Regions from separate parts of the Homo sapiens genome. Here region 1 is linked to region 2. Evidence: promoter capture Hi-C in 16 types of primary human blood cells and fetal thymus (Javierre and others, 2016). All regions are on one chromosome and are shown on one strand. Each heading gives the region's core, a stretch centred on a gene start or on the middle of the fragment in contact. The rest is flanking DNA. Distances are from core to core; before and after follow the strand shown. Region 1 holds the start of HMGN5 (high mobility group nucleosome binding domain 5). Region 2 holds the start of ATP7A (ATPase copper transporting alpha).

What was found. Contacts are between HindIII fragments. The CHiCAGO score rates a contact against its expected background, and 5 or more counts as called.
Region 1: a contact is called between the fragment with the promoter of HMGN5 here and the fragment with the promoter of ATP7A in region 2, in 1 of 17 cell types (fetal thymus). The highest score is 6.7, in fetal thymus.

The regions. Positions count from the first base shown.
Region 1 is chrX:81,200,594-81,203,293 of GRCh38, forward strand. HMGN5 (high mobility group nucleosome binding domain 5) reads right to left here and starts at 1,320. Exons shown (of 7, transcript NM_030763.3): 1 at 1,144-1,320. It overlaps SH3BGRL (SH3 domain binding glutamate rich protein like), which reads left to right and starts at 1,509. Exons shown (of 4, transcript NM_003022.3): 1 at 1,509-1,652. The coding sequence starts at 1,608. RefSeq lists enhancers at 1,165-1,414, 1,535-1,704. The HindIII fragment of the contact is 6,013 bases long and covers 1-2,700 here.
Region 2 is chrX:77,909,309-77,912,008 of GRCh38, forward strand. It overlaps ATP7A (ATPase copper transporting alpha), which reads left to right and starts at 1,385. Exons shown (of 23, transcript NM_000052.7): 1 at 1,385-1,527. The HindIII fragment of the contact is 7,135 bases long and covers 1-2,700 here.

The sequences.
Region 1 (2,700 bases), core at 70-2,569, 3.3 Mb after region 2:
AACTATCACAAGGACAGAAAACCAAACACCACATGTTCTCACTCATATGTGGGAGTTGAACAATGAGAACACATGGACACAGGACAGGGAACATCACACCCCGGGGCCAGTCGGGGGGTGGGGGGCTGGAGGAGTGATAGCATTAGGTGAAATACCTAATGTAAACAACGAGTTGATGGGTGCAGCAAACCAACATGGCACATGTATACCTATGTAACAAACCTGCACGTTGTGCACATGTACCCTAGAATTTAAAGTATAATTAAAAAAAAATAAGAAGGTGGCCTCTGGAGTTCCTAACTCTGGAATGTACTAACCATATGATTTTAGGAAAACTATTTTTCTGAGTTTCAGTTTCTTCATCTGTAAAATTAATGTAATAGTACCCACCTCTTGAGGTTGTTTTAAGGACAACATGTAAAGAGATTAATTTGGAATTAGTATTTAAGACAGATTGGAGAAGGGAAAACCTGTGGGTAGGGAACAGTTAACAAAGCTATTGTAAGCACTGAGCCTAGGCAAAGACAGTAAACCACTAGACTGGAGACAGTGGAAAAACAGCAAAGGAAAAGAAGTAGGACAAGCGACTGACTCCTCTCCACTCTCATTCATCTTGCAAATTCCTTTTTTTCTGTTCATTTAACATAATCTGGGAACCTAAAACTACACTTTGAAGTATATGGTCTGTCTCTGGACATTATTAACTGTTTGCTCATTTCCTTAGAGCTACAAATAACCATCTGATCTCTCTCTTCACCATTTCAACATCTGCAATATGTTCTCCCAAATCCCTTACTTCAGTCAGTTAAAAAGCAAAACAAAACAAAAATCATCCATCTTTTTACACAATATTTTCAATCTTTTCTTTGTAATTTATTCCTTCATTCTTAAACTTGCCAATCAGGCCTCCTGCAAATTCCCACGGAAGCAGGGTTCCCTAATTTAACAAAACACAAAATTCAAAAAGAAAACCAATCCTGCCATTTCTGGGCTTAAGGAAACCTGAAACTTTCCTTCAAAACTCTGCAGCATTGCTCAGTACTTTAGTGCCTAATTCCTACAACGAGCTAAGATCAGAAAAATCACTACGTAATAGGAATCTTAAAATGCGCAAGGCTTTGAGAACATGGGTTTTCAACATACAGCTTGCTCTTTCAGGATCTGTCTTCTTATTTGCATATATTTCTGAGCAGGAAGTTATGCGCAGTACTTTTAGTCTCCGCGTGAAAAGGTCCTTCATGCTAATCTAATTCAATTCAGTTCTCCTTTTTCTTTCTTCTTCTCCTCGCCCTCTTCTCAGGGAAGGAATCGTCAAAAATCAATGTTTCAACAGATCTCGCGGTGCTATTCGAGATTCCCTATTAAAAAAAAATAGAATTGATGCAAACAGCCTGTTCCTTCCGGGGTTTTGGGCTGGAACTGCAGCGCTTAGAGAGCTCGGTGGAAGCTGCTAAAGGCGGAGGCGGGGCTCTGGCGAGTTCTCCTTCCACCTTCCCCCACCCTTCTCTGCCAACCGCTGTTTCAGCCCCTAGCTGGATTCCAGCCATTGCTGCAGCTGCTCCACAGCCCTTTTCAGGACCCAAACAACCGCAGCCGCTGTTCCCAGGATGGTGATCCGTGTATATATTGCATCTTCCTCTGGCTCTACAGCGGTAAGGAGAGTGGGGAGTCCACCTTTGTTGTTTTCCTACACACCAGTCCTCTGCTGCCCCAGAACCATTAAAATGCAGAAGTTCCTCTGGCAGCTTCTCCTTTGGAAGACTCATGCATCCCCGATCCCACCCTTCTTCTTCCCTTTTTTCCCTTTGTTGCATCGATTTCATTTTTTTTTTTTTCCACATAGAGTTCAGCTTTGTTTGCTTCGTGACGTTGGGGGGCACATTTCTGCTTTGAAGGAAAACGAAAGCTACCAAGTTTTGGGAGATGGGAGATGGTGCTATACGGTCTTTAGGGTTACGTGAAGTCAAGTAAAATCGCACACTGGTGAGTTTCAAGAGTGAGACATTTGATGAATACGCCCTAAGTACTGAGACAAGGAGGAGTGCACTTCTGTAAAGGATGGGGGTACACATGCTGTAACTGGTGGGGATTGAGTGGAGGCCTACCGAGGCATTGTAATTATTCTGGGTGAGTGAGACCCTGGTAATAGAGTTATTTTGAGAGTGTGTAGAAGAAAGTGGTTAACTTGAGCTTGAAGGCCTGTTAGAACTAGACAAATTGGGAGGGGAAGTTGGTAACAATGACGTAAATTTTTTTTTAACTTAATATGACACGAGATTCAGTTTTCCCCCCATATTGTCCCTTATTTTGACTGTTTCTATTCTTTCAAAATATTTTACTTTTAAATTTCTCTCACTGCTTCAAGTATATTGAGAACTGGATAGGGAGCTCAGTGGCTTCTTGTGTAGTGGCAGCCTGAGTTGCTGCTGCTTCAAATGATAGGACTTTCTCTTTCATGGATTCACTTACTCTTAATTTAGAATAACAAATTTTCAGCAGCTGTCGGGAGAATATGATAAACTGGGGTGCAAGATGAGTGTATATCCATGATAAATGAAAGTGCTTCTGCTTTTTACAACTCAAGAGAAAGGCAGACAGTGGCAAGAACAGATGTGTGGGTTCAGATTGTAGGGTATAGGAACCCCTTCCCTCTTCTTGAGCTTTAGAGCAGCAGCTAATCCAGGTTGTTGTGTGTTTTTA
Region 2 (2,700 bases), core at 135-2,634:
TTTAAATGTTGCCTGTCAAGGCTTAATAGGGACTTGACAACAGCTAGGATGGAAATTATTTCAACACTTAAATATGCTTACTTTGTGCCGGACGCTGTTCTAAGTCTTTTACAAATATTTACTTGATATTTGTATTTTGTGTACTATTTTGATTTCTGCAACATTATTAGGCTTCATACTCTTCTGTGGGAACTGGGTTCAAATGGTTCCAGATGAAAATACAAATAGTCCTGTGATTAGTTTTGTTCTACATCTTATGACAGATACTTCATGAAAGGAAATATGAAAAGGCCACATCTTGCTTTGAAATAAGTGAGATGGAGCCTCTCCCTCTTTTTACTGTTAATGTTCATAGTTTTAAAAATCCTAGAATTTTGCTGCTTTTCAAAATGTTAAGTTGGAAAGCAAGAATAAAATGACCCTTTTTTCAAATGTTTTCTGTACCATTTATTGCATTGTTTACATTTTATGCATCTCATTTCTAAATGAACTCATGGTAACAGAGACTGTAACACTTTTGCATCACCGGAATCTTCTAGGTGTGTAAAATGATGGACGAGTGAATGAATAAATGGGGGAGTGGTTCAGAGCTTGGAATGGCGCTATGAAGGTGGTGAAGTGACGTCCCTACCCCCTCAACACACATATAAAAATTATGAATTTATAAACATTTTCCTCTTGATGTAATTTTTCAATGGAGGGAAGAGGATAAATTCATAGTTCTGGCACTTACATCTGGAATTAGGCTACACAGTCTACGGGAAGCAAGTTAACACAGTCTAACAGATGCACGTGAATTTCATGCTGGGCGAAGATGAACTATGTGGAAGATGACTTATAAGGAGCTTTTATGTTACATCTTGGCAGTTAACACAGTCTAACTGATGCACGTGAATTTCATGCTGGGCGAAGATGAACTATGTGGAAGATGACTTATAAGGAGCTTTTATGTTACATCTTGGCAGTTAACACAGTCTAACAGATGCACGTGAATTTCATGCTAGGCAAAGATGAACTATGTGGAAGATGACTTATAAGGATCTTTTATGTTACATCTTGGCCTGAGGTTAGGAAACTAAAGATGACAAAGGCACTGTTTTAGTATGGGTTTTCTGGTTTCGCTTTTGTCGTGGGGGCGGGGTGGGATAGTGGACTCGTACCCTAACAAAGACCCACTCGAGGCTGCGTGTCGGCCCGGGGGCAGCAGGGGGCAGGAGAAGCTGGCTCTAGACCACGCGTTCCTTTTCACGTGACCAGTCGCTCTCTTTCCCGTGGCGGCCCTGCTTCCGGCAGGGGCATCACCCGGAAGTGGGGGTAGTCGAGGGAGGGAGGGGTAAAGGCGGCTGGCCGCCGCGGCGGGGGGTGGGAAAAGAGAAGCAGAGGGAGGAGTTGTTGCTGCCGCCGCCGCAGCCGCAGCTACTGTGACTTCTCCGATTGTGTGAGCTTTGTTGGAGCCTGCGTACGTGGATTTATCGCTGCCACGGTCTGCGTAGCTCCAGAGGTTTAACCATAGGATAGAGAAACCAGGTAAGTCCTACATTGGCTTCCCGTCGTCCTTTCTCCTGGAGGGGGTCTTCTGTGCTGTCAGTTTGTACTACGAGTGTGGTGAGAAGGTCATGTTAGTCTGGGGCAGTCTCGAAAGTTTCACTTATTCACAATTCAGGTATTAACTACATTTATGTTTTACCTCCCCTAACAGGGGATAGAGGAGGGGAAATTAAATCCTGACCTGTGTCACTTTCTTGTACCCTCTTGGAGAGAATGTCCTGATCATCCATGGCCTACGTTACCCAATTAATTGAGGGTACAAGAAAGTTTGTGTTTGGCATTGAAAGTCACATGGACTGGGGTCTTTGCTTAGTGACACCTCTTTATACTTTGGAAGCTAAGGTTACTAAAATGACCATAATTGATGAAATAATAATTGAAAAATAGATATTTGGCTTCTTGTCTTGCTCTGGGAGCGTAAGGTAAACTGAGAGAACTCTTGTTTCCACTTAGTTTTGTTCATTGTGCCCCCTTTCCAGTAAAGTTACTGTCCATTGTCCGACCCTGTGGCATCTTATCTTTGACACTTTTCTTCGTTGTAGACGTTGAGATTATCTTAAGCACAAACACTTATCGTTTCACAATTCAGCGTTTGTCCAGGATCTGATCTTTATTTTAATCACAGACTCTTTATCTACAATAGTATGGCTTTGTATTGAGAATATGTGCAGAACATTGAATTAGATGATACTGAGGTTATTAATTTTTTTTTTTTTTTGCCGGGTGCGGGGGGGTGGTGGGGAGGGGGTGATGCACAAGAAATAAGACAGAGTTCCTGGCCTCAAAAGAGTTTACTTACAGTAGGCTGGGCGCAGTGTCTGACACACCTGTAATACCAACACTTTGGGAGGCCGAGGAGGGTGGATCACCTGAGGTCAGGAGATCGAGACCAGCCTGGCCATCATGGCGAAACCCTGTCTTTACTAAAAATACAAAAATTAGCTGGGCGTGGTGGCGGGCGCCTGTAATCCCAGCTAGTCGGGAGACTGAGGCAAGAGGATCGCTTGAACCTGGGAGGCGGATGTTGCAGTGAGCCGAGATCGTGCCACTGCACTCCAGCCTGGGCTACAAGAGCGAAACTGTCTCCAAAAAAGAAGAAAGAAAAATAAACAGTTTACATACAATTGAGTCCGAATTGAGTCAGTTGAATTC